7 separate regions of the Homo sapiens genome follow, and all the other regions are linked to region 1. The links are contacts of gene promoters, found by promoter capture Hi-C in blood cells and fetal thymus (Javierre and others, 2016). All regions are on one chromosome and are shown on one strand. The core of a region is centred on a gene start or on the middle of the fragment in contact, and the rest is flanking DNA. Distances in the headings are between cores, read along the strand shown.

Evidence for each region. The method cuts DNA at HindIII sites, captures the fragments that hold promoters and counts their contacts. A CHiCAGO score of 5 or more calls a contact.
Region 2: a fragment that was not itself captured here is called in contact with the fragment with the promoter of CDKN2B in region 1 in 4 of 17 cell types (M0 macrophages, M1 macrophages, M2 macrophages and 1 more); the score reaches 10.9 in M0 macrophages.
Region 3: a fragment that was not itself captured here is called in contact with the fragment with the promoter of CDKN2B in region 1 in 3 of 17 cell types (total B cells, naive B cells and M0 macrophages); the score reaches 11.4 in total B cells.
Region 4: a contact is called between a fragment that was not itself captured here and the fragment with the promoter of CDKN2B in region 1, in 17 of 17 cell types (megakaryocytes, M2 macrophages, endothelial precursors and 14 more). The highest score is 51.0, in megakaryocytes.
Region 5: a fragment that was not itself captured here is called in contact with the fragment with the promoter of CDKN2B in region 1 in 4 of 17 cell types (erythroblasts, megakaryocytes, total CD8 T cells and 1 more); the score reaches 6.1 in erythroblasts.
Region 6: a contact is called between a fragment that was not itself captured here and the fragment with the promoter of CDKN2B in region 1, in 9 of 17 cell types (monocytes, fetal thymus, non-activated CD4 T cells and 6 more). The highest score is 6.7, in monocytes.
Region 7: a contact is called between a fragment that was not itself captured here and the fragment with the promoter of CDKN2B in region 1, in 6 of 17 cell types (M2 macrophages, M0 macrophages, naive B cells and 3 more). The highest score is 13.7, in M2 macrophages.

What each region holds. Positions count from the first base shown.
Region 1 is chr9:22,006,847-22,010,859 of GRCh38, reverse strand. It overlaps CDKN2B (cyclin dependent kinase inhibitor 2B), which reads left to right and starts at 1,555. Exons shown (of 2, transcript NM_004936.4): 1 at 1,555-2,062. The coding sequence starts at 1,907. All of the region lies in intron 1 of CDKN2B-AS1 (CDKN2B and CDKN2A antisense cis and trans regulatory RNA 1), which reads right to left. RefSeq lists a silencer at 2,014-2,213. The HindIII fragment of the contact is 2,577 bases long and covers 1-2,265 here.
Region 2 is chr9:22,157,647-22,161,762 of GRCh38, reverse strand. No RefSeq gene overlaps it. Among named protein-coding and RNA genes, the nearest start is that of CDKN2B, 150 kb to the right of the region's middle. The HindIII fragment of the contact is 3,008 bases long and covers 406-3,413 here.
Region 3 is chr9:22,193,706-22,197,882 of GRCh38, reverse strand. No RefSeq gene overlaps it. Among named protein-coding and RNA genes, the nearest start is that of CDKN2B, 190 kb to the right of the region's middle. RefSeq lists an enhancer at 468-527. The HindIII fragment of the contact is 1,552 bases long and covers 681-2,232 here.
Region 4 is chr9:21,813,461-21,817,835 of GRCh38, reverse strand. MTAP (methylthioadenosine phosphorylase) reads right to left here. Exons shown (of 8, transcript NM_002451.4): 2 at 2,317-2,403; 3 at 1,064-1,122. Among named protein-coding and RNA genes, the nearest start is that of MTAP, 13 kb to the right of the region's middle. The HindIII fragment of the contact is 2,384 bases long and covers 1,051-3,434 here.
Region 5 is chr9:21,859,771-21,863,788 of GRCh38, reverse strand. MTAP (methylthioadenosine phosphorylase) reads right to left here. Exons shown (of 8, transcript NM_002451.4): 8 at 1-1,813. The coding sequence ends at 1,775. Among named protein-coding and RNA genes, the nearest start is that of MTAP, 59 kb to the right of the region's middle. The HindIII fragment of the contact is 2,154 bases long and covers 518-2,671 here.
Region 6 is chr9:21,791,970-21,795,720 of GRCh38, reverse strand. No RefSeq gene overlaps it. Among named protein-coding and RNA genes, the nearest start is that of MTAP, 8.8 kb to the left of the region's middle. The HindIII fragment of the contact is 8,774 bases long and covers 1-3,751 here.
Region 7 is chr9:22,227,692-22,232,012 of GRCh38, reverse strand. No RefSeq gene overlaps it. Among named protein-coding and RNA genes, the nearest start is that of DMRTA1, 220 kb to the left of the region's middle. The HindIII fragment of the contact is 4,433 bases long and covers 1-4,114 here.

The DNA of each region.
Region 1 (4,013 bases), core at 306-2,805:
CTCAAGAATTGGGTCAGACTATCTTGTCCTAACTTTTCTGATAAGTTTCAGAGAAACTCAAAGGTCAAAACAAGAGCATAAGAGTAAAAGGTAGAGAAATTAAGAAACTGAAGACTAGGAAATGGGGGTTGGATGGGAAAGAAAAAGAAATTGTTATTAATGCTACCCGGTTCCCTTCCCTGTCCAGGTGGATTTCAGCTCTGTTGAGGCTCTGTCAGTAGATTTTCAGCCCTAACCAGCACTTCCATGGTGGTGGCACTTCCACTGCCTTTAAAAGAAAGAGCTTTTTTTAATTCTACAGGGATTTGGGGGATGAGGAGTCAGAGCTAAGGTATCCTAAAAAAAACATGTGAAGACTCTCATTTTGCAATACACAAGCAATTGCCCTCCTGTTAAGACTTTGTCTTCCTCAGCACTCCGAACCAAAATGATTCTGTAAACAAAAATTGTTCACTTTTAGGAGAGGTCCACTTATGCAGTTCCTCACCAAAGTTTTTAGGCAACAAATCCATAACTTGCGGTTCTCTTCCTATCCAATGTAGCATCCGCTGAAATGTTTTAAATATTTTAAGTAATAAATGTTGATTCAAACTCACCTAGGAAGATTAGGAAGGGGAAAAAAAGCACTTGGCATTTAAATCTTCAGAAGAGAATTTAATGACAGGTTCAGCCTGTTTAATGACAAGCCCAGCACCACACCCCTCTCTTATGATGTTTCATTATTACTGCATAAATTTCCTTTATTACTCATGATAAATAAAAATAAGATACCTGACAAAGTGGGTTTAAATAGGTAAGAGTGCAAACAAAGATTTACTGTACAAATATGATGAAACTGGGATCTCAGATTCTTAAAGTATAATTTTTTTTTGTCTTATGTGTGCCAGGTTGCCACTCTCAATCTCGAACTAGTTTTTTTCTCTTTTAAGGGTTGTATCCATAATGCAAAAATGGAAAGAATTAAAAAGCACACGCAAAACATGATTCTCGGGATTTTTCTCTATTTTTATGGTTGACTAATTCAAACAGAAAGACACATCCAAGAGAAAATTGCTAAGTTTGATACAAGTTATGAAACTTGTGAAGCCCAAGTACTGCCTGGGGATGAATTTAACTTGTATGACAGGTGCAGAGCTGTCGCTTTCAGACATCTTAAGAAACACGGAGTTATTTTGAATGACTTTCTCTCGGTCACAAGGGAGCCACCAACGTCTCCACAGTGAAACCAACTGGCTGGCTGAAGGAACAGAAATCCTCTGCTCCGCCTACTGGGGATTAGGAGCTGAGGGCAGTGGTGAACATTCCCAAAATATTAGCCTTGGCTTTACTGGACATCCAGCGAGCAGTGCAGCCAGCATTCCTGGCGGCTCCCTGGCCCAGTCTCTGGCGCATGCGTCCTAGCATCTTTGGGCAGGCTTCCCCGCCCTCGTGACGCGTCGGCCCGGGCCTGGCCTCCCGGCGATCACAGCGGACAGGGGGCGGAGCCTAAGGGGGTGGGGAGACGCCGGCCCCTTGGCCCAGCTGAAAACGGAATTCTTTGCCGGCTGGCTCCCCACTCTGCCAGAGCGAGGCGGGGCAGTGAGGACTCCGCGACGCGTCCGCACCCTGCGGCCAGAGCGGCTTTGAGCTCGGCTGCGTCCGCGCTAGGCGCTTTTTCCCAGAAGCAATCCAGGCGCGCCCGCTGGTTCTTGAGCGCCAGGAAAAGCCCGGAGCTAACGACCGGCCGCTCGGCCACTGCACGGGGCCCCAAGCCGCAGAAGGACGACGGGAGGGTAATGAAGCTGAGCCCAGGTCTCCTAGGAAGGAGAGAGTGCGCCGGAGCAGCGTGGGAAAGAAGGGAAGAGTGTCGTTAAGTTTACGGCCAACGGTGGATTATCCGGGCCGCTGCGCGTCTGGGGGCTGCGGAATGCGCGAGGAGAACAAGGGCATGCCCAGTGGGGGCGGCAGCGATGAGGGTCTGGCCAGCGCCGCGGCGCGGGGACTAGTGGAGAAGGTGCGACAGCTCCTGGAAGCCGGCGCGGATCCCAACGGAGTCAACCGTTTCGGGAGGCGCGCGATCCAGGTAGCTGGGGCCCCAGGGCCTCGCCGGCAGGGGGCGCGCGAACGCGGGGCGCGGCCTCGGCGGATCGGGGCTGGAACCTAGATCGCCGATGTAGATTTGTACAGGAGTCTCCGTTGGCCGGAGGTGTGCATTCCACGCGTAAAACAGGCTTTTACCCAGCAAAAATCCTAAAGAGAGACATTGAAAAACCCACTGTTTAAGCTTTTTTTAGTGGTTTTTGTTCTGCCATCTCATGATCAGAGATGCAAGGAATAGACTGAATTGGGGAGAAAAGGAGAAAAGGAAAGCTTATTTAGGGAAGAAGATTATCTTGTCTGTCTGCTTTCAACGATAAAGATAAGTAAAGTATAAGTTACGCATTCTAGATTGGATTTAAGGAATTCTACAAAATCATAGTACATGGAAAAAATCAATGTAAACTTCTAAGCTACTATATGAAATCTGTTGTATTGTTTTCTCATAGAGGTTAATTGAGAATGAGACGGGATTCCTCAACCACAGTACTTAGTTCCTTTTATGTTAGCAGTGTCTTATGAGTGATGCATAAGAGAAAAAATATATAGTTCTATAGGTTTCTCATTCTTTAATTATCATACTCAGTGCCCAGATTACAAAAATATTCCTGCAGCAACTGTTAGGTCCTTTTTGAATGGCAAAGGATCTTCATAAATAATGCATCTTTATCTTCATTGTTAAAATACACTTATTCAATGTTTAAGTACGAATCCTGCTTTAATTAGTACTGATATTTTTTATTTCTTTTACAATCTCGGACAACTCTTTTGTACTTTACCGTTGGCTAGTGGTCATATTCAGTACTCACCTCACTATCACCCTCTAAAACTAAGCTAATATTAAGGGATCTTGTTAATAGTATAGATTTTAAAGAAGTGTTCATTTCTTTTGAATTCTTAGAATAATGGTATAACAAATGAGGGATTTTTAAAGGAGCAAAAATATTGTAAAGTGCATCTTAAAAACTTAAAATTTTATTAATAATTATAAAAACAAGTTATATATGTAATTCACCATTTTCTGAAATACTAACAGCAGCTATTTTCCCCTTTTTTTCTATGTAAAATATCCTTACATCACTAGTAGATATAACTTATCACGGTTTTTAAGAGATGAAATGAACATTTCTAATATTAATGAAACAAGCCAACAAAACATGAGAAGTATACTGCCTTTCAATTAAATGGTATATTTTAAAGTGCATAAACCCATAACAAATAACTCGATTTTAGACATTTAGTTACCAAAAATTGTCTTATAATTGACTTTAAATATGACAGCAAATGTTTTCATAATGTTCATGTACACAAATGGCTGCTACAGGATTACTCCTGCAAAACATCATTTTTTCTAAGTTATGCATCATCCTGATTGACTGCTAACATCCAAGCTCTATTTATTTATTTATTTATTTTATTTTTTTTGAGATGAGGCCTCACTCTGTCGGACAGGCTGGAGTGCAGTGGCACAATCTCAGCTCACTGCAACCTCTTCCAGGATGCAAGCGATTCTCCTGCCTCAGCCTCCTGAGTTGCTGGGACTACAGGCACGCCCCACCATGCCCAGCTAATTTTTTATTTTTTGTAGTAGAGACGGGATTTCACCATGTTGGCCAGGCTGGTCTCGAACTCCTGACCTCAGGTGATCTGCCTGCTATGGCCTCCCAAAGTGCTGGGATTACAGGCATAAGCCACTGGGCCTGGCCCAAGCTCTTTTTATATAGCAAAATATTTACTGTTTAACATTTTTAAATCTTAGCTATTATAAAATCCTGTAGTATACAAATATAGTTAGTTTTATATTACATTAAAAATATTATAGTCTAAATTTAAAATGATGAACTGTTAAGGAAAAATCATTTATTATAATTTTATAAGATTTTGCATGATTTAATTTACTTTTCCCTTCTAATCTCCAACTTTGGCTCAAATTATCA
Region 2 (4,116 bases), core at 660-3,159, 150 kb before region 1:
GCAGTCTCAAGAAGCAAAACTATAGGAACAGAAAATACATCAGTTGTAGCGAGGATTTGGTGGAATGGAAGGGAGGTGATATGTCTGAAGATAAAGAGGCAAAAAGAATTTTGGGGAGTGTGGAAATTTTTCTGTATCCTATTGTGTTGATGTTTTGTTGGTTACAATAAGCTTTGCATGTATTAAAACTCAGAACTGTAAACCAAAAAAGGCAAATACTACTATATATATAATTTAAATGTTTTAAAATTTCTATTTTGATCTCTTATTATATGCCAGATCTTTACATAATTTTTCATCTTAATCATCATAAGAACCCAGTGAAATAAGTAACAGTATTATCTCCATTTTTCAGATAAAGAAACTGAGACACAGATTTACTAACTTGCCCAAGGTTACAAAGCTTAATGGAGGTGACCTTGGATTTTAATCCAAGCAGACTGACTCCAAAACGAAATATCCTTACCACTACCCTATGCTATCTCTGAAAAGAATGAAAAAGAACTTCATTTACCCTCTATCAATGAAACTAAATGACTTATTTAAGGAGCAGAATACCAGATATAACTATATGGGCATAATTTAATGTGCAAATGGAGCAGAGCACATGCCACCAAGGCAAACACACACATATATCTAAGCCCACAAAATGTCTTAATTGCTGTTTTAATAACTAATTACACTTTCCAATTTCCAATTGTCTTTGCAATAAAATATCTTCCTGTTTACATAATAAATGAATTTCAAAGTCAATTTCTAATTTCCTTTTTTTTTTTTTTTTTTTTTTGAGACAGAGTCTCGCTCTGTTGCCCAGGCTGGAGTGCAGTGGCGCAGTCTCAGCTCACTGCAAGCTCCGCCTCCCTGTTCCCGCCATTCTCCTGCCTCAGCCTCCCAAGTAGCTGGGACTACAGGCGCCCACCACCATGCCCGGCTAATTTTTTGTATTTTTAGAAGAGACAGGGTTCCACCGTGTTAGCCAGGATGGTCTCGATCTCCTGACCTTGTGATCCACTGGTCTTGGCCTCCCGAAGTGCTGGGATTACAGGCATGAGCCACCACACCTGGCTGTCAATTTCTAATTTCTAAAGAAAATCTTTCTGCAACTACTCCTTAAGAAATCAGTATTCCAATGCAAAGAAATTACAATATATCAATTGGAAGCTCAAATTACTTGTTTAAAAATTCAAAAAATTTAATTCCACTCCCCCTGCCTCTCTAGTTCCCCAAAACTAAATTCTTCTGGATATTTTTTGGAACTAAAACCTTTTAGTAATGAGGCAAACGGATAAATACACCCACATCTGGTGGCTTGTGGTCATTCTTACATATTCATCTAGGTCTTTCAGTGCCTGCAATCAATATACCCACAAACTCCATTCCAGGCACTTTACAAAAACAAAGCTGTCTTCTGCAAAAGTGATACATGGTATACCTTATATTTTAGCAGCAACAGCAGCAGTAGCAGCTCAGGAGAGAAAACAGAGGGAAACAATTATTATGGTTTTTAAAACTAAGAGTTACAAAGAGTGACTATATTTAGTAAGCACTATTTTGAGATGATAAAGTCTACTTAGTTTTGGTGCAAAAAGTTGGTTGAAGGATATTTGCATTTGGATTTTAACACTCAACACTCAATCATGATTAATTTAATCACCTTAGTACTATGTCCAAGATGGATTACACACATAATTATGTATATGTTCTTTTCCTCCAGGCAAGAATTATCTGGGGTCCATGTGACATTTCTGCCTTGAATCTGCCTTTCCTGACACATTCAAGGGTTTGATGAAGCTATTCGCAGCCCACCATGAAGCTCTTTGCAGCCCACTATCATCAGCCTCCAAACACCTTTAGTCTGAACCCTAAGATTCAGAAATAGTTTTTCTAATGAACTCTACTGCACTTTATGTAAATACAATTATATTTCATACAGTCATATCAAAAAAGGGAACCAAAGAGAGATATGTGGAAAGAACCTAGTTGATCTTTGGAGTCAAAGGACCCTATTCATCACTCATTTACCATCTGTGCAATGCAGAACATGTTTGAATTCTCCAGTTTTTCTTCTGAAAAAGCATTATACCTATATTTATCTTTTAAGGTTACTACTACAATCAAGTAAGATGTTGTTGGCCTAACAAAGTTCTTGGTACAGACTGGGTAACATAAGAATCATAATTATATTTACAACCAGTAAAAGAATTTATAATTACAATCAAGAAAAGAAATCCTATAGATAGAAAAGCATTCATCTATAGCCATTTGCAACTTTATTTCACAATATTTCCTTGGGCAAATTTCTCTACACCCTGCCCCAATATCAGGTTTTATCTTGTTATAAACCCGTAGGATTTTTAGTGTTTATCATGAGTTACCAGCATGTCCACCATGGAATACAATGATTTTGGTTTATCAAGTCAGGCTGGCTAGAGGAATATTTTAGAGAAGTAAATGACTTTGCAACCTGATGCAGCTAGCAGGGAGATTGCACAACCTTAATTCACAAGCACAAGCACACACACCCACACACCCAGGAAGCGTGGGGGTCTTGTGGAAGTCAGTAGCTTATCTATTATGTACACTCCGGAGCTGTAAACAAGACCATGTGAGGACTCAGCTAGAATGCTTCCTCTGAGTCAGTATTAAACAAACTTCCGAACTATTAGGGAAGGAAATAAAGCCACTGTACCCCCAAAGACACCCAGGACAGAGTGCCAGGGATTATGGGAGTTGTTTTTAATATTCTGCCAGAGACTGATGCAATGATTAAAGGAGGTTTTGTAATAAAAACAACATACTGCTTAACAATAAATAGCTAGCATAAATTAGAATGGGTTGTAATCTCATAAGGAGTGTCCTACCAGAAATTTACATGACCAATTATGTAAAAATAACAAAATGTTTTGAAAATCTTTAGTGCTGTACTTCATAAGAATGCTAGCACAACTTTTTGTTTGGTAACAATTACTTTAGTATCATATCACAGTATCTATTTTGATTCAGGATAAATCACAGGCAAAAATCTCATCAATGGTAAAAATAATACAACACCAGGAAATCACAAATTCTCAAAAACAGTACAGCATGGGGCAGTGGAGAAGACTCTGGCTTTGAAATCAGAAGTGTTCAAACTACATTTTCTAGTTTTGTGATCTTGAGCAAACTGTATCTTATGAAGATATCATTTTTTCATCTATAAGATAATGACATTCACAAGGTTCTTATTAAGATCATATTAGATATTAGATGAGTAAGCACTTTGACAAATATGTAGAGCTGTATGAATGTGAGATATAATGACTCACTGCTTTAACCTGTAAAAGTCCTCAGGTCAACTCAAACAGAGTTAGAAAGAAATCAGGTTTAGAATGCTCTGGAATTGTTTTTCTTGAAGGCTAATGAGTTCTAAAGCTTGCCTCTCCTTTGGCCTGAAGTAAGTACATTTTTATTTTTAGGAAGGAAAAAAAAGATGGATATCACCTGTAACTGAAAATCTGCAGTTATAACTTGATCCTGAGAATGCAGATGCTCTTACTTACACATAGTCTTGTTTCTGAGTTTTAGAAGACTGAATACAGAAATCACCAATCATAAAAAGGAGGAAACAAAGCATTTTAATTTCTTTCAATGTCCACAAAGTAGAATGTTTCATTAAGTGTTGTCTGGGTGTTCAGACAGTAAAGGACATTACCATTTCCGGCAACCCAAAACTTGACCTCACATTTGGACTTCTGACGGTAAACTTCCTGAGAGGAAATTAAATACAGAGAACCTCTTCCAGTTTGGGATACCGGTTCTGCCAAAAACACCGTGAGAAACACTTACACTAAATTAACTTTTTGAAATTTACCCTTAAAATACTAAAGCTAACAGAAAGGGCAGTGTATTTTTTTTTATTTAGAATAGGGAGTGAAATCAAAATCAAATATGTCCAATATATCCTTTTCTCCTTTTATTCCTCTAAAAATTTGTTCTACAGTAAGATAAAAGAGTTCTTCCTTGCTTTCCTATAATATCTTTACTTGAACTCTAATCTCTAGGCCTTAAAAATGAAAACATTCAATTGAAAGAAAAAAAGGAATTATAGCAGACATAATTTACATATATGACATATAT
Region 3 (4,177 bases), core at 207-2,706, 190 kb before region 1:
TTTTTCTTTTCTATTGCATCATCAGGCTGTACATTTTCTGAATTTTCGTGCTCTGCTTCCCTTTTAAACATGTTTCAGTTCCAAAGCATAAATCTGCGAATACATAAAACTCAATGCATTTAACAGCACCGAAGTCACCTCTTGAATGCTTTGCTGCTTAGAAAATTCTTCTACCAGATACCCTAAATCATTTCTCTCAAGTTCAAAGTTCCACAAATCTCTAAGGCAGGGGCAAAATGCCAGTCTCTTTGCTAAAACATAGCAAGAGTCACTTTTATTCCAGTTTCCAACAAGGTCTTCATCTCCATGTGAGACCACCTCAACCTGAACTTTATTGTCCATGTATCAATGTCAGCATTTTGGTCAAAGCCATTCATCAAGTCTCTAGGAAGATCCAAACTTTCCCTTCAAACTTCTTCCTGTCCTCTTCTGAGCCCTCCAAACTGACCCAACCTCTGCCTGTTTCTCAGTTCCAAAGTCATTTCCACATTTTTGGGTATCTTTACAGCAGCACCCCACTCTACCAGTACCGATTTACTGTATTAGTCAGTTCTCATGCTGTATAAGACATACTTCAGACAGAGGAATTTATAGAGAAAAAGAGGCTAAATAGACTCACAGTTCCACATGGCTGGGGAGGCCTCACAGTCATGGCAGAAGGCAAAGGAGAAGCGAAAGCTTGTCTTAAATGGTGGCAGGCAACAGAGGGTGTACAGGGGAATTCCCTTTTATAAAACCATCAGATCTTATGAGACTTATTTACTACCATGAGAACAATAGGAGGGAAACTGCCCCCCTAATGCAATTTCCTCCACCTGGCCCCACCCTTGACACATGGGAATTATTACAATTCAAGGTGAGATTTGGGTGGGGACACAACCAAACTATATCAGGAACGAATCATGGAAAGAATATTTCAGGACATTATACATAATTTCTCCAACCTTGCTAGAGAGGCCAACATTCAAATTCAGGAAATGCAGAGAACCCCATTGACAAAGAGACATATACTCCCACATAATAATAGTAAGAGACTTTAACACTGTACTGACATTATTAGATAGATTATCCAGACAAAAAAATTAACAAAAATATTCAGGACATGAACTCAGCACTAGATCAAATAGACCTGATACACATCTGGAGTACTCTCCACCCAAAAACAATAGATTATAAGTTTTTCTTATTGTCACATGGTACAGACTCTAAAATCAATCACATAATTGCACATAAAACACTCCTGAGCAAATGCAAACTACTAAAATCATTTACAAAGTCTCTCAGACCATAGCATAATCAAATTAAAAATCAAGACTAAGAAATTCACTCAAAACAATACAATTACATGGAAATTAAATAATATGCTCCTGAATGCCTGTTGGGTACATAATGAAATTAAGGCAGAAATGAAGAAGTTCTTTGTAAGTAATGAGAACAAAGATAAAACATACCAGAATAACTGGGACATAGCTAAGAGAGTGTAAGTGGGAAATTATAGTGCTACATCCCTACATCAAAAAGTTAGAAAGACCTTAAGTTAACAACCTAATATCACAACTAAAAGAATCTCAAATCTAGCTGAAGATAAGAAAAAAAAACAAAATTAGGGATAAACTGAAGGAGACTGAAACAAGAAAAACTATTCAAAACATCAACAAAACTTTAAAAAATAATAATAAAATAGACCACTAGCTAGACTAATATGGAAGAAAAGAGAGAAGGTTCAAATAAACACAATCAGAAATAACAAGGGAGATATTACCATTGACCCCACAGAAATACAAATAATCATCAGAGAATATTATCAACATGTATATGCATGTAAACTAGAAAATCTAGAAGAAATGCATAAATATCTTGACATATACACCCTCCAAAGACTCAACCAAGGAGAAATTAAATTCCTGAACAGACAAATAATGATCTCTGAAATTGAGTAGTAATAAATAGCCTACCAACCAACAAAAGCTCGGGAAAAGCCAGATACACAGCTGAATTCTACCTGTTGTACAAAGAAGAGCTGGTACCATTCCTACTGAAACTATTCCAAAGAATTAATGAGGAAGGTCTCCTCCCTAACTCGTTCAATGAGGCCAGCATCTTCCTGATGCCAAAATGTAGCAGAGACACAATGAAAAAAGAAAATGTCAAGCCAATGTCTATGATGACTATTGATGTGAAAATCCCCAGCAATATACTAGCAAACCTAATTCAGCAGCACATCAAAAAGCTTATCCACTACAACCAAGTAGACTTTTTCTCTGGTGTGCAAGCTTCATTCAACATATGCAAATCAATAAATTTGTCTCATTACATAAACAGAACTAAAGACAAAAACCACATGATTCTCTCAATAGATGCAGAAAAGACTTTCAATAAAATTCAATACCTCTTCATGTTAAAACTCTCAATAAACTAGGTATTGAAGGAACATACCTCAAAATGATAAGAGCCATCTATGACAAACCATGACCAACATCACACTAAGTGGGCAAAAGCTGGAAGTATCCCTCATGAAAACCAGCACAAGAAAAGGATGCCCTCTCTCACCACTTCTATTTAATATAGCATTGGAAGTCCTGGTCAGGGCAATCAGGGAAAGTAAAAAGATAAAGGCATTGAAATAGGAACAGAGGAATTCAAACTGTCCCTGTTTGCAGATAATATAATCCTATATCTAGAAAACACCATAACCTCAACCCAAAAGCTCCTTAAGTTGATAAACTTCAACAAAGTCTCAGGATACAAAAATCAATTTGTCTTCTGAGATAGAAAAATGTTAGTAATGCAAAAATCACAAACATTCCTATACACCAACAACAGTCATGCTGAGGGCCAGATCAGGAACGCAATCTCATTCACAATTGCAACAACAAAAAATTAAATATCTAGGAGTATAGCTAACCACAGAAGTGAATGATTTCTACAAGAAGAAGTAAAAAACACTGCTCAAAGAAATCAAAGATGACACAAACAAATGGAAAAACATTCCTTGCTCGTGAAGAGAATCAATATTGTGAAAATGGCCATACTGCCCAAAGCGATTTATAGATGCAATGCTATTACCATCAAAATGCTATTGACATTCTTCACAGAATTAGAAAAAAAACTATTTTAAAACTCATATGGAACCAAAAAAGAGCCCAAATAGCTAAGGCAGTCCTAAGCAAAAAAAACAAAACTGGAGACATCATGCTACATGGCTTCAACTATGCTACAGGGCTACAGTAACCAAAACAGCAGCATGATACTGGTACTAGAACAGATGCAGAGACCAAGGAACATAATAGAGAACCCAGAAATAAGACTGCAAGCCTACAACTATCTAATCTTCAATAAACCTAGCGAAAACAAGCAATTGGGAAAGGATTTCCTATTCAATAATGGTGCTGGGATAACTGGCTAGCCATATACAGAAAATTAAAACTAGACCCCTTCCTTATATCATACACAAAAATCAACTCAAGTTGGATTACAGACTTAAAATGCAAAACCCAAAAATAATCAAAACCCTAGAATAAAACCTAGGCAATACCAAACAGGATATAGGAATGGGGAAAGATTTCATACGAAGATGCTAAAAGCAATTGCAACAAAAGCAAAAGTTAACATATGGGATCTAATTAAGCTAAATAGTTTCTACACAAGGAAGAAACCATCAACAGAGTGAACAAACAACCTATAGAATGGGAGAATATTTTTGCAAACTACATACCTGAAAAAGGTCTAATATCCAGCATCTATAAGGAACTTAAACAAATTTACAAGAAAAAAATAACCTCATTAAAAAGTGGGCAAAGGACAAGAACAGACACTTCCCAAAAGACATACGTGAGGCCAACAATCATAGGAAAAAAAACTCAACATCACTCATTATTAGAAAAATTCAAATAAAAATCACAATAAGATATCATCTCACACCAGTCAGAATGGCTATTAAAAAGTCAAAAAACAACAGACGCTGGTAAGGCTGCAGAGAAAAAGGACACTTATACAAAGTTGGTGGGAATGTAAATAGTTCAACCATTGAGGAAGACAATGTGGTGATTCCTCAAAGACCTGGAGGCTGAAATACCATTTGTCTCACCTATCCCATTACTAGGTATATACCCAAATGAATATAAACCATTCTATTATAAAGACACATGTATGCATATGTTCACTGCAGCACTATTCA
Region 4 (4,375 bases), core at 993-3,492, 190 kb after region 1:
ATGTAGAGTGGCAGACAGACCCTAGTGAGGACCCCACTGTCATGCTCTGTATAAAGGATCAGTGAACCTGGGACTTGCATTCAGCCAATAGAAAAATGGTAAACGTGCTATAAGTCACTCCCACGATTAGGCTCTACCTTGCAAGCATGCATAGGAGATTCTCCTGCCGGACTCCTGCATGCTTGCAAGGTACAGCTTAACCATGGAGGTGACTTCTAGCACCTTTGCCATATCCTAATAGCAAGAAGCAAGCTGCAGTCAAGTGAACAGCCTGTGGAGCAGGCCACACGGCAGGGAATGTGAACCACCTCTAGGAGCCAAAGGCCTCCGCCCTGTAACTTCTAGGGAGTGAATTCTCCTACAACTACACGAGCTTGAACAAGGACCTCAAGCTCCAGATGGGGACTCAGTCCTTGAATATGCCTTGTGGGGCCTTGTGCAACCCCAAGCAGAGGACTGGCTAAGCTGTGCCAGACTTCTGACCAACAGGAACTAGGAGATGATGTGTGCTATTTTAAGCTGCTAAATTTGTGGTAATTTGTTACACAACAGTAGAGAACTCATACATATATCTTGACTAACTTCTAACAATGGGATAAAAATGACTTGGCCTCCTCTGTAATATGGAGCAGCACCAGCCTCCTTAAGGAAACAACAGCACAGACACAAGTAACCCACTTCAGAAGCCCTAAGCCTACTTCCCACAGACATATAACTACTACCAGCAAGAGGTCATTAATGATGCATTGTTTTTCTTTATCTTTATAAGAAGGGGGAAAAAAATGAACAAAACATTTCTTCTTGCAGTTAGAACTAAAACCAGAGCTTTGATTTTAGTCATCTGATCTACTTTCCCAATGTAAGGGGCAAGAGCATGAGATCTTTGATCTCCTAAGTCAATATAACTTAACCAAAAATAAAACATTGTAAATAAAGGTTACTAAGATGTTCTGATTCTGCCAACATATAAAAGCTCAGACCTGTATCTTTACTCTTTCCAGAATTTAAGTTAAATTTAAATTATCCTTTAGTAGTAACATCCAAAAAGCTTAAAATACCATACCTTGCAAGGAGGACGCAATCAACATTTTTTATCTTCCCCAAAATTAAGGCATCAGATGGCTGCATGCAATGAAAAAATGACATTTAACTCAGTGATTTAAAAACAGGTATGTAAATTATAATTGTTCAACCACAACAGGACTCATGGAATCTGAAGAGTCTGAGGATACAACTTAGAGAAGAGGCAAGATCTGATTATCAATATAATCATTTAATCAATTACTTATTGATCCCTCTGCAGGCATAGATTCACAGGACTCAAGGTTACCATGGGCACCTGTGTAGGTACCATTTAGTCAGATCTATTTGTAACGAGTACCCCAGGGAACTCTGATGGTAGACTGGTCAAATTTAGATGTGTCAAGGTTATTGGGCAGGTTTGAGAACAGGTGTGAAGGTGAAAGGCAGAAAGGATAACAAGCCACCATCATGACACTAAGAATTCAGCACTGGAAATGTCTGCTTGTGTTAACCAGGTCTAAGATGATCATGGAAATGACTTGAGGTAACAAAGGCTGGAAAGACCCTTAGAACCGAGGGGTTTAAGAAAATGAACCAGGATGACTGCAGGACTGGGAGCACACAAGGTCAACCTAAGAATTTAGCTGAAAAGGAGGGTTTGGTTGGGACAGCCAGATAGAGAGATCTTACAGATGGACCAGAGGACGTAGCAATATGGAATTAGGAGAATGCAGACACCCTCACCCCGGCCTAGGCTGAGTGACATGGGCTTGGAGAACAAGCAACCTCTCCTATAAAAGGAGGAGCATTTTATTTCTAGCTCAGTTACACATTCAACTAACATCAGGTATGTTCTAATTCCCCAAAACAATTCTTTCCACTCAAATGCCGCTTCGTAACAATAATTCATCCTATTAGTCATCAGCCTGTCCCCTAATTAGTGTGGTGTGACCTATTGGCCACAAATTAGAAGATTTGAATGTAGATTTGAAAAGTACAGTCTGAAATGAGTCTGTGGTCTGAAATGAGTATCTGATTTCCAGCAACAGAATGAGAAGTGATTTACATACTAAGTAGCCATTTTCTCAAAACATCAAAGTGTGAGGCGCCCATCAGACACCTTCTCAGCTGATGGAACCCAACAGCAGAACTTCTGGCCCTCTCTGCTGGGAGCAGACAGCCCTGGGCTGCCAAAACAAAAGCAATTCTTTTTTTTTTTTTTAATTCAAAAATCAAGCCAGCAAGGAGAAATGAAAAAACTAAAAAACATGTCTCCACAAGTTGGATATTAACCTTGCCAAATGGAGTATCCACATATTTTTCAGTTCTTCCTTCTAAAATTTCTGGATCATCCAGGCCTGTTCCACCAATTATTCCAATCTAAGAGAGAAAAAGACAGAGAAGATTATTGTATTTGGTAATTTTTATTAGAAATAAGATTCTAAGCAAATTCATTTATTCATATGCTCTTCTCCATTCCTGCCAAGCCCTAGTTATTTTTTTGAAATCTGAAAATTACTGAACATCAATCAACAAATATTTCAAAGCCTTCCATAAAAATCAACAAACATTTGAAGGCCTTCTATATTCTATAAGTAACCAAAACGTAGGGCACCTTTTTGGACTACATCACATTTACTTCTGACTGTCTGAATTACAAGTCAGCATAGAGAGGTATTTTAACCAACTCAAGGTAGAAAATCAAACCTAAAAGTAGGCAAGTATGGTAGTGGAAAGTACCTTCTGATCAATTTTGTTTCTCTGTCAAATGGACTATAGAATAAACAATGTTCAGAAGACTGCTGGGATATAAAATATTAGGTATTCCATTTGGTATTGATTTCTCCTCACTGTTCTATTTGATAAAGAAATGAGAGATTATCTTTCCCACGCCATTAGAATCACAGAGCTAGGAGAGAATGCAGACAGAGGAGACTGAAATTGCATGAAAAGTTACCCGCATATACATTTATGAAAACAATCATTCATATATGTATGCAAATTCATATTTACATGTTGTAAATATACATATAGCATACTCATGTATATTACTCAGTAAATACATTTATGCAAATATAAATAATTCAAAAGGTAGTTATAAGTTTTTTTTAAGTTCATGCATTGTATTGCATTTTTCAGAGATTATCTTGAAAGTCCTTGTCTGAGTTAAAGAAACCTAGCACTATCCTCTGAGAGTTGATCTAATTTGATGATTAAGAAAGACAAACAAGAACAATTACAAAAATAAATAAAAATTAACTAAACTGTTAAAACTAAAAATAAGTAACAAATCATTAGGGAAATTTCCTTGGGCTGGTACCTCCTAGAGAGTAAACAGTGCCAGGCTAACTTTATTAGAAACCTAATTAATGCGAAGTGACCTGAGCATTGTTGTTTTTCAATGAAAAGCTTTAAATCTATTGTCACAAGGGTAACTAAATAAAATAAAGTAGGCCTCAAGAAAAAAATTCCAGGATTAAGAATTCAGTGAACATCTGCATTAAATAATTTTCAGGTCAGGTTACACAAGTTGAGTCCTATCAACACGTAAAAAAATGGTTACCTTTCTGGCTCAGTTTCCTGAAAAAAACAAAACACACACACAAAAAAAGCAACAACAACAAAAAACAAACAAGAAAATAAGGACAATTTAGTGAGGTTTTTACTGAAGAACTCTGCCTGTTTCCCATGACATGGTTACATAATTTGTGACTGTCCACCACAATTTCCTTAAGTGGCAAAGCCAGGCTTTGATGTTGGCGCCATCTTGTGGAGGTATATTATTAAAACCACAGCAGGTTAACATACTTTTATGTCAACGAACAAAGAGTAACCAGTATTATAGCTTTCAAATCAACAGAAGTGTTCACTTAAGTCAATACATTTAAATTACGGCACTTCAATAGAAAATAACAAAAATTCATACTGTTTTAGGAAATCCCAATCCTTCCTTAGCCTGGCTTCTCCATCTTATCCTTCATTCCGTGGACCTCTGAAGCACCACAGGTCATGAGGAGGCTAAGAAACCATCCAGCCCATATCCTCACCTGGGACACAGATATGAACTGCTGACTCTGAAATTACTCTCAGCCAGCTCCCTGGGGATTCAGCTACTAGCTTTTTAACTTATCACCACTTTGGCCTGGCTGTTTCTGGGTGTTCCCTGAGCCAGGGCATCTCAGATTCTGGATTCAACACTGGATGCTCGGGATCAAATACACAAATCGAGTTGGGCTTTGTTTGGAGCCACCCTCTGAGTTTAGGTGAACTTGCCCAGCATTGTAGCAGTTGTTGAGAAATGCTAACCAGGTGTCCCGCTGAATTTCAGAGCCCCTGAGCTCACTCTCAGCAA
Region 5 (4,018 bases), core at 345-2,844, 150 kb after region 1:
CAAACACATTGACTTTACAAACTCTTTAAATAAAAGGTTCTGTATCTTGATCCTGAAGTATCCTGTAATAGCCTACAGTGAAAAGAAAACAATTCTGAGGAAAAAGATCTCCCCATGATAAAAAACTGAAGCAAACAAAAAGCATTTCACTCTTTTTTTTTTTTTTGAGACTGAGTCTTACTCTGTTGCCCAGGCTGGAGTGCAGTGGCACAAGCTCGTCTCACTGCAAGCTCTGCTCACTGCAAGCTCCACCTCCCAGGTTCACACCATTCTCCTGCCTCAGCCTCCTGAGTAGCTGGGACTACAGGTGCCCACCACCACGCCCAGCTAATTTTTTGTATTTTTAGTAGAGACGGAGTTTCAACGCATTAGCCAGGATGGTCTCGATCTCCTGACCTTGTGATCCACCCGTCTCGGCCTCCCACAGTGCTGGGATTACATGGATGAGCAACTGTGCCCGGCCAACAAAAAGCATTTCTATAAAATAACAATAAAAAAAGAGTTAAAAAAGCAAGCTTCCACTTTATTAAAAAGCAAAAATTACCAACTCGTATAAAATAATTTAACTCATAAAAAGGAGAATCAAACATTACTTTTTAAAATATCAGATACCATAAAATGTGCATTTAGTCTTTTAAATAGTTAAACTTTCAGTTAAACTATTAAACACCTAGCTTTTCTCAGAAAGCTGTTGCAAACCCAAGTACTGTTCTGACTGTACAGAAATCAATGATCCTCTTCTTTAGCAGAATAAAGATGTAACTCCCTTAAATGACATTCACCTTAATATTACCAACTTAAATTCTGCTTCATTACCAGAAACAGTGTTTTCAAGAACTGGATCTTTCTAAATCCACTTTTATTTTTACAACAACTTTACTATTTGATTAAATTCACTGTAGAAAAATGTGAAGACACAGAAAGATTCAAAGAAAATAAAAATTATCCCAGTATCCCTCCCCCAAATACAATAACAAGGTTATATATATTTCTTTCTAGTTTTTTTGTATATTTACATAGCATTTTAAAGCAAAACTAGTACTATAAAATGCTACCATATCCTTTTTTCACTTCATATATAGAGCAACCGTGTCTTTTTAGGACATTGAAATATGCAAAAAGGATTTTCAGTTGGCTGATTCACAATCTAATTATAACTAAGACATAATTTACCTCCAATTGCAAGGGATTCAGATTGTTTCAATTATTTATTATTATAACTATCATTATTAAACACCCTTCTTTATATATAATTCTTTGTATGCATCTCTGATATGGTTTTAAAGAGAAATTGCTAGATGTAGAGTTCCCAGCACAAAGTACGTCCGTATTTTTAAGTCTTTTGATGCATTTTACCAAATTGCCCTCCAGAAATACTGTACCAATTTACAGTCGCATCAATAAATAACCAAAGAGTCCCATTTCTTCCTCACATTCTTTGGCAGTATAGGAAAGTAGAGATTACCCTCCACCCTTTATTGTTGCAAATTTAATAGGGGGAGAAGAGAATGGTGGGTTTTTTTTTCCCCCTTAAAATGTAATATTTTTTCCCACATGTTTACTAGTCATTTGCTTTTCTTCTGTATTTTGAAGTTGTCTAAATCATTCAGGAGTCTCTAATACACACAATGTCTTGTCTTTCTTACAACATACTCTTTGATAGGCAAGGGCATGAAAGCTGCATGTCTTTCCCATATTTTTTTCAAGTTAAGCAGGAATTCCCAAAATGACTGGAATTAGAATGTCTTCTTTTCTCCTGGGCAGCCATGCTACTTTAATGTCTTGGTAATAAAACAGAAAACTGGGCCATATTCTGAAAGGAAGAAAGGAGGCAGTGATATTCACATGTTGGCGTAATTACTGAGATGTTTGTTAAAAAAAAAAACAGATTTTGATTTTCTAGATCAAAGTGAGGACGCAGGAAACATACACTTTAAATAAATTCTACAGAAAATTTTCAAGTTCACTAACCAGATGTGGAACTTCGGGTACTCTAAACTCTTGGTTCCTCACCTCCCTTTCCTGTAAAGTGAGGTTAATAATGCTTATCTCAGAGCATTGTTCTGATAATCACTTATTGCCATACCAGCCCCCAGCCTGGATTATTGTTTATGCAACCTCTATCCCTTATCCTTACCCCACTGTAAGAAATCATTGAAATTTTTATGTGTCTATATCTCCAAACACCATAGGATCATCATCACAACTCTTTATCTTTGCAAACCAGACCTTGACGTATAGCAGGTGCTAAGTGTTTCTGAAATGACTTAGTGAGGGAATGAATGATACACATTTCAGTGCTAACAATACTACCCCAGAAAAAGGGATTATTAGTATGGTGTTCCTTAATGCTGTAGCATGAAGACCAAGATTCTCAGTTTTGTCTAGAGCAGGAATTCCTCATTTTCTCTCTTTAGGTTTTATATGTGTGTGTGTGTATATGTATGTATGTGTGTATATATATACACATATATATAAAATCCTCCTTTGAAAATCCGATGAAAGCTACGTAAACTAAGCCTCTTTAAAAATGCATACAAATAAAATCACACAATTTTACAATTTCAGAAGCTCCAGGAAAGGAGAACACTGATTTCTACTCTTCAAGCATTTTTACTTAAAAATAAAGCTAAAACAGTAAATATATTATTTGAGAAATTAACTTCAAGCTTTTGAAAGACTATGGTCAAAGTGGGGTTAGTTGGGAGACTTAAAAAAAATAAACTTGGCTGGGCGCAGTGGCTCATGCCTGTAATCCCAGCACTTTGGGAGGCCAAAGCGGGTGGATCACGAGGTCAGGAGTTCAAGACCAGCCTGACCGACATGATGAAACCATGTTGGTCATCTACTAGGTTTAGTCTCTACTAAAAATATAAAAACTAGCTGGGCATGGTGGTCCATGCCTGTAATCCCAGCTACTCAGGAGACTGAGGCAGGAGAATCGCTTGAACCAGGGAGGCAGAGGTTGCAGTGAGCTGAGATCGTGCCACTGCACTCCAGCCTGGGTGACAGAATGAGACTCCGTCTCAAACAAACAAACAAATAAACAAACAAACTTCTATGACATTTTGCTAACAATAGTACAAGTAGGAGTCACATTTCTGGCAAACCAACATGCGTTTTTTTATGCAAGCTCCAGTTGTGCCATTTGACTGCACTCAAATGTATTTTTTCCCTTTTAATTCTAATAATAAGGGTTTCCTGCATCTCTATATATTATGATAAAACACTTCATGGGGGAAAGGAGTATCATTTATTCATTAAATAACATTTAGGTCCTAGGTATACAGTGTTGAAACCAATAGATTTGTTTCTTAGTAGGGAAGATAAGCTACAAATTCCAACATTCTTGACCGTCAGTCCTAACTGCTGAGAGACACCTTAGTTACAGTGGTGTGCTGGATTCTGTTCGTACCAGCTTGCAAGAGCTGTGTGTATCACTTCTCAACTCATCAGTGGCTTCACATTAGTAGTGTGAAACTGGCCGTACTGGAGCACTTGTACCACGTAAATTAGCAAACATTACAAATCAAGGCTCTGCCATGCCCAGTGATTGGCAGTCACTTACCACCATACAATGTCCTCATTATACTAAAACTGTGGCTCTCTCATTACAGAGCTCCTAGGTGGTAATTCAGGTAAGGAGGGCTTAGATCAACCTTTCAAATCCTCTCTCCACCACCACCAGAAGACCCAAAAGTACAGGTGTATTCTAGGAGACTTTGGGGTATGGTCCTCTTTGGATAGTAGGAGAATGCAATATCTGATCAGTTTGAGACAAGTCTTTCCCTATGTGGTTAAGAAGAGTCACAAAGTGCCCAAAGAAAAATCATGCAACTCCGAGTTTATCAGTTAGTTTAAATTATATTCTGAGAATACTAGAGTTGGTTTATCATTAATTACTGTTTAGTTTGATGCATGATTAACCTTAAGCAGATATTTTCTGGCACCATTTTGGTACTATTGTCAGAGTTTTGGCTTTAAAGGATTGCCACAAATTTGAATGGATCTGCCAAAG
Region 6 (3,751 bases), core at 1,126-3,625, 220 kb after region 1:
TGAGAAAGAATTAATCACAAAATCACTTTGATGGTGTAAACTTGAAGTCCCTGGTTGATGCAACAGTTATAAAAAACCTCAGAGGTCCCCCTGCAACACAGATGGAATCACTGAGGAAGCAGATCGCTCTCAGGACCTATGTCTGGTCTCACTCACATCTCTGACCTATATAGCCATATTGTGAGCATAAACACTTGACCCACAAAGCTCTGCTCGTCCAAATTGTAAGTGATTCCCTACACTTGGATCAGGAAGGAGTGACCATCAGCCTGGTTTGGCTGGGATAGTCCTGGTTTATACCTACTGTAGATCAATTAACAAGTTTTAATTATTTTTAGTGTTCCCCTTTTCCCTCTCAAATGTGTCCCAGTTTAGAAGATATATTTTATGGTCACTCTAGGTAAGTGCCTTTCCACCATGGGATGGTTTTGAATTAAATATAGAAATGTCGAAATAAAGCAAACATAGCATTTGTGCTAAATTTAAAGAAAAACTCTGTTTCTTATTTAAAACTTTATACAGTATATAAAATACATAGAATTTCAGAGGTTATCCTCATAATTCCAATTGAATATGCAATTGATTTTAAGTTTGATTTTAAGCTAAAAGGCAAAAATAATTTGACTAAGTTTCCGTATATTATCAGATTATATAAGGTACTTTGATTTGTTATATTTCCTGAGTATAAATAATTTTATTTCAAGCATTATCTGAGTTCTCGGAAACATTTTGTTTATAGGTATTGTAAATTTGTCCTGTCAGACATTTGAAATGCTTAAAAATTAAAGTCAAATTTTTGAAAAACTGTTTAAAATATTTAATCGAATATAATTAAAGTATTGAGGAAAATTATTCTGTTCAATTTAGAAATGTTAATCCAAAAATAGCTAATACAGTAATCAATAAAAAAGTAAAGGTGATATTTCTCATTATACTCAACTTGTAAACAGTATAAAAAGATTTGTAAGTTGAACAGAAATGCTTAAGGAAGACTTGTTTTTAAATTTTCTGACTTTTAATACAATTTAAAACCCAAATAGCTTTTAAATACTTCTTCACACACAGAGCTCTCACCCTTATTTTACTCCGGAATTTTTTTTTTCAAATACCCAATACAAAATTCACATGGACTATTGCCTCAAGAGCGAAACTCTGGCAAATTGGAGAGAGTGTGAACAGCCTGTGGGTGAGGAAAAGAAACAACAAACCTGTACTTCATAAAGTCTGGATGAAAAGGGAGGAGATACTGGGAGATGAACAGCAGAGGATAGGTAGTCAATGGGGTATTTTTTTTTTCTTTTACTAAGGAGAGAGTTTTGAGCGTGTTTGTAAGCAAGTGAAAAGAAGTTCACAAAGAAGAAAAAATGGAAGACACTAAGAGAGGTATGGCTAATGGCCCAAGATCCCAGAGGAATGGGATCAGAAGCTCTGACAGAAATCATAGTCCTCTATTAGAATGGAGACATGGGGCTGGAAGAAAGGAGGTAAGAATGGGGCCTCTAGATAGTTTAAGAGTAGGTGCTGTGAACCTAAGAAAGACGACTCTTGATGGTATAATTTTCTTAACAAAGTAAGAGATAAGGGTTGCATAATGAGTTTGAGAAAAGATGACAAAGATTTGACCATGTCAGATTAGGGACCATGAATTAGAAATGGTACCAATCTGCAAGGGCGTGTAATTTTTTCTGACAGCCCTTCACCCTTGTCTGATCAGATAGGACCTCAAGGAATTGAGGATGTTGGGGAAGTATAAGTTTATCTTATCAATCAAAGAAATCCAGCCCTGTGGGGAACAATGAAGCCATGAAGGACCTGGATGATGGGGGAAGGTGGAGGATCAAGGGGGTGGAGGATCAAGGGACTGGAGGACTTAAAGGAGTCTAAGAGCCATGAGGGTAGGGTGAGGGAATGTGAAAGAGGGAAGGAGAGGAGGTCCTGGAGGGAGATATCGGAGCTCAAGGTTTTAGAAGAGTAATAAGTTCTAAAGGTTATGGAAAGATCCAAGAAGTGAGCAAGTGAATTAGTCAGATGGGGGAAAGGGGGAAGGTGGTTTGTTTTTTTTTAAATCTCCATGTGTGTATTGTCTACATTCATATTACATCTCCTAGAACTGTGGCAGATAGGACTTGGGGTAAGACGAAGACCATGATACAAGGTCCAGCTGTTGGAGGGGCTGGTAAATCAAAGCCACAGGGATGATCAGAGGATGGTAGAGCCAGATGGAAGAGACCACCTTCTAATAGCATTAGTTTTTCTAGAGGCCATGGAAGCAAACCAACCTGGAGTTGGCAATGAGAAACCAGGAGATTGCTACCCTTCATCACAGTCCCCTAGTATGTAGGGAATGGAAAAATAACAACCTCCTTAAGAGAAAGCTGTAGAGTGAAAGGATAGGCAGATTTCAGTAAAGGAAAATAGATGGAAACGGTGACTTAAAATGAGGGTGAAGTATAAAGAGGCTTACTAATTACTAAACTAGCACTTCATAAGAATGCAGTGGGAAATGTATTTGTAAAGTACTGAGGGAAAGTGGAAGAGGAGTATTTTTTGCTTGCTATATCTTTCTTAATTTTATTGTTAATTGACAATAATTGTATATATTCAGGAGACATATGTATATATATATATATCCTGAATTGTATATATTCAGGAGATGTTATATATGAACATATATGCACATTATAGAATAATTAAATCAAACTGACATATTTTCTATCTCAGATACTTAGCATTTCTTTATGTAAGAACGTTTAAAATATACTCTTTTAGCAATTTTGAAATATATAAAACATTATTCTTAATTATAGTCACCATGCTGTGCAATAGATCACAGACTTATTCCTTCTGTCTAACTGAAACTTTGTGCCCTTTGATCAACATCTTCCCTTTCCCCATTCAAATAATCACTACCTCCAAATCTCCAGCTTCTGGTAGGCACCGTTCTACTCTCTACATCTATGAGTTTGACTTTTTTAGATTCCATATATAAGTAAGATCATGCAGTACAGTATTTGTGTTTCTCTGCCTGGCCTATTCTACTTAGCATAATTTTCTCCCGGTTCATCCTCATTGTCACAAAGGGCAGAATTTCCTTCTTTTCCTAAAGGTTGAATAATATTCAATTGTGTATCATCTTTATCCATTCATTCATAATGGACACTTAGGTTGATTTCACGTCTTGGCTATTGTGAACAATGCTTCAATAAACATGAAAGTGCACATATCTCCTTGACATACTCATTTCATTTTCTTTGGATGTATGTCCAGAAGTGGAATTGCTGGATCATATGGTAATTGTATTTTTGTTTGTTTAAGGAAACTTTGTACTGTTTTCTGAAGTGATTATACTAATTTACCTTCCTACCACTGTGCACAAGGGTTCCCTTTTCTCCGCATCCCCCTCCAACACTTGTTCTCTTTCATCTTTTTGATAATAGCCGTTCTAATAGAAATGACTTGATATCTCATTGTGATTTTAATTTGCATTTCCCTGATGATTGATGATGTTGAATAGTTTTTCATGTATCTGTTGGCCATTTATCTTCTTTTGAGAAATGTCTACTTTGGTCCTTTGCCCATTTTTTAAATCAGGTTGTTTTCTTGCTACTGAATTGTTTTAGTTCCTTATATATTTTGGATATTAGGCCCTTATCAGAAGACAGATTTGCAAATATTTTATCCGAATTCTTGGGTTGTTCCTTTACTCTATTATTTCCTTTGCTGTCCAGAAGATTTTTCTGTTTGATACAGT
Region 7 (4,321 bases), core at 649-3,148, 220 kb before region 1:
ACATGTGGTAATGAGAAGAACGTATATTCTGTTGGTTTTGGGCGGAAAATTCTGTAGATATTTATCAGATCCTTGTGATCCAGAGCTGAGTTTAAGTCCTGAATATCTTTGTTAATTTTCTGTCTCAATAATCTGTCTAATATTGTTAATGGGGTGTTAAAGTCTTCTACTATTATTGTGTGGGATTCTAAGTCTCTTTGAGTGTCTCTATGAACTTGTTTTATGAATCTGGGTGCTCCTGTATTGTGTGTATATATCTTTAGAATAATTAGCTCTTCTTGTTGAATTGAACCCTTTACCATTATGTATGTCCTTCTTTGTCTTTTTTCATCTTTGTTGGTTTAAAGTCTGTCTTCCCAGAAACTAGGATTGTGACCCCTGCTTTTTTCTGATTTCCATTTGCTTGGTAAATTTTCCTCCATCACTTTATTTTGAGTCTATGTGTGTCTTTGCACATGAGATGAGTCTCTTGAAGACAGCATAGTGATGGGTCTTGACTCTTTATCCAGCTTGCCATTCTGTGTCCTTTAATTGGGGCATTTAGCCCATTTACATTTAAAGTTAATATTGTTATATGTGAATTTGATTCTCTTGTCATGATGCTTGCTGGTTATTTTGCAATCTTGTTTATGTGGTTGCTTCATAGTGTCACTGGTGTCTGTACTTCAGTGTGTTTTTGTAGTGGTTGGTAATGGTCTTTACTTTCCATATTTTGTGCTTCCTTCAGGAGCTCTTGCAAGGCAGGCCTGGTGGTGATGGATTCCCTAGGGATTTGCTTGTCTGAAAATAATCTTATTTCTCCTTTGCTCATCTGTTGGGAAAAAGCTGAGTGTTGGGAAAAAAACTGAGGCAGGGTGGGCATGTCTGACATAATGTCCTCGGGAATGTGTCTAGACTTGCTGGCTCCTTGCTTCTAGCCTCCTAGGCTCCTAGATTGATTGTATTCCCATTATCTCAAGTAGCAGAACATGTTCCTTATAAATGCTAAACCATCACAGCTGTAGATCATGTGCCTGCCCTTTTGACCCCCACATTCTCACCACTTGTTTCTTTGTTGGATTACCAATAAATAGCATGGGCTCCCGGAGCTCAGGGCCTTTGCAGCCTCCACAATCGCGATGGCCCCCTGGTCCCACTTTACTTCTCAAACTGTCTTTTTCTCAATCCTTTGACTCCACCGGACTTCGTCGCCCCCATGACCCGGTGTTGGGTCTGATCACCCCAACATTATCAAACTTAGTTTGGCCAGATATGAAATTCTGGGTTTGAAATTCATTTCTTTAAGAATGTTGAATCTCTTCTGGCTTGTAGGGTTTCCACTGAGAGGTCCGCTGTTTGTCTGAAGGCTCCTGTAGGAGGTGTCTGCAGACCCCTGTTGAGAGGTCTCACCCAGAGAGGAGAAATGGGATCAGTAACTTGCTTAAGGAAGCAGTCCATTTGCCCCTTGGCAGATCAAGTATGCTGCGCTGACCACCTGGCCTCTCCAGAGCCAGCAACCTGGAAAAAATAAGTTGGCTGAACCACAGAGACAGCTGGCTGCCCCTCCCACAAGGGACTCCATCCCAGGGAGAAATCAGAGTTCAGTTCATATAACCCTGGCTAGAGTTGCTGAAATTTGGCAAGGAGGCCCTGCCCAGTGGGGAGGGATGGATGCAGGTCCCACTTAAAGAAGCAGACTGGGGCCATGCACGGTGGCTCACACCTGTAATGCCAGCACTTTGGGAGGCCGAGGTGAGCGGATCACAAGGTCAGGAGTTCAAGACCAGCCTGGCCAACATGGTGAAACCCTGTCTCTACTAAAAATACAAAAATTGGCCAGGTGTGGTGGCTCATGCCTGTAATCCCAGCACTTTCAGAGGCCAAGGCAGGCAGATCACCTGAGGTCAGGAGTTTGAGGCCAGCCTGGCCAATATGGTGAAAACCCATCTCCACTAAAAATACAAAAATTAGCCAGGTGTGGTGGCGCGCACCTGTAATCCCAGCTACTCAGGAGGCTGAGGCAGAAGAATCGCTTGAACCCAGGAGGCGGAGTTTGCAGTGAGCCAAAACTGTGCCACTGCACTCCAGCCTGGGTGATAGAGCCAGACTCCATCAAAAAAAAAAAAACTAGCTGGGCATGGTGGCGGGCACCTTTAATCCCAGCTACTCCGGAGGTTGAGGCAGGAGACTCGTTTGACCCCAGGAGGCTGAGGCTGCAGTGAGCCGAGTTCAGGCCATTAACTCCAGCCTGGGTGACTGGGCGAGACTCCGTTCTCAAAAAAAAAAAAAAAAAAAAAAAGCCTGGTGGCTGTTGCCTGTAATCCCAGCACTTTGGGAGGCAGAGGCTGGCAGATCATGAGGTCAGGAGATTGAGACATCCTGGCTAACACGGTGAAACCTCGTCTCTACTAAAAAATACAAAAGAATTAGCCAGGCGAGGTGGCAGGCGCCTGTAGCCCCAGCTACTTGGGAGGCTGAGGCAGCAGAATGGTGTGAACCTGGGGGGCGGAGCTTGCAGTGAGCCGAGCTTCCGCCACTGCAATCCAGCCTGGGTGACGACAACAACAACGACAACAACAACAAAAACACAGAAGAAGCAGATGGGTCATGTTCAGGAACAACAGCTGTGCTGCATTGTGGGCAATTTCTTCTGGTCCCGGTGCCAGCAGGCTAGAGCATCAGACTGGAACCACAGATATGGCAGCTGCCCCTCCCCCAGAAAACTCCGTGGTCTCAGGCCCTTTCCAGCCTACTGCTGCTGGCCAGCTGGAATTCCAAGCCAGTGCTTCTTAACTTGTGAGGTGACATGGGAATGGGGCCTGCAGAACAATGTCACTGGGCTCACTGGATTCAGCCCCATTCCTAGGGGAATGCACAGGATTCTTTGCTGGAATTCCTAGGGCTAGAGTATGCAAAACCCCTGAGTTTCCCTGCGTGCCAAAGTGAGGGAGCAGCCACTCTGCTGAGACTCTGCACAACTCTGTGCTTCATACCCAAGGCTCTCATGTGAGAATCTGGATACCTCAGTTGAAGGTGCAGAATTTTCTTGCCATTTTGTGAGAGCTGCAGACCACAACTGCTTCTAATAGGCCATCTTGGTCCCTCCCCGCCTTTTTATCTTCTAATTGTTGGTATAGACGAATGAAATCAATTTGCAAATGTTTATTTTTTTAGTCATTCAATTCAACTAATTCTAAGAATTTTTTATTTGAATAATTTGGGCATAATATCACATTATCAGCAACTGAAATTGTATCTTCTGTTTTCATCCTCTAGGTGTCCCTCTTTCTGAGTTCTGTTTCTTATCACGTTCAGCAGAGTGAATTCTTCTTTAAATATACTACTGTTAAGGAAGATAACTTAGGATGCAATAGACTATCTAAAGAATAAAATCATGAAAGTGCCACATCTCAATCTGGGATGCTGCCAATGCCATACTTAAAGTTCTCAATGCTTGTATCAGGGATGGACAGAAAGATAAACAATCATTGTCAATACTTTATGAGCCAAGAGAAAGAAGAAAAAGCTGAAGTATAAATTTAAACAAAATGGAAGAAGAGAATTGATAAATAATAAAAATAAATTCGTCACCACAAATAATTTAAGAAGCGCCAGTTTACTTCCCAAGCAAGAGTCTTAATATCACTGGGTCTCCTTTATAAAGCCTAAGAATCATGAAGAAAAAGACACTTGTAAAGAGAGATTTTCCATCCACCAACAGAATGCTTCCTGAAGTTTATGAACCCTATAGACCCTAAAATAAACTAACTGATATTAAATAATATTTATATTATAACCTAATATAATATATAAATATAAATAATATATAAATATAATATATAAATATAAATAATATATAAATATAATATATAAATATAAATAATATTTATATATATTATTTAATATTAGACCAACTGCAAGAACTGCCTTTCCTCTCTGGCCTGGGTGAAAAAGGGTTGACACAGTCTTCTTAGAGATACAGAGGCTGTGGAAAAAATGCCACCTTCACATCTCTGCTACCAGCATGCACCTAACCCTGACTAGAGTGTGAGCAAATGTAATTTGTAACTTGTCTGTATTAAGCCTTTACTCAGTGAAGAATAATACTCCCTTAAGAATTTTGAAATTCTAAGCTTCCCATCAAGAAGGTTGGGAGGTAGAGGGTTCATTCCTATGTCTGAAAAGTCCTGGAACTCTGAAGCCAATGTAATAAATTGAATGCACTTCTAGGTTGATAACACCCCGGGTCTTGTCAAAAAGAAACACAAATCCTTCTGGAACTTAGGGCATTCTTATCATCATCCATTTAGTAGTAAAACAAAATTATGATCAGCCAAATATG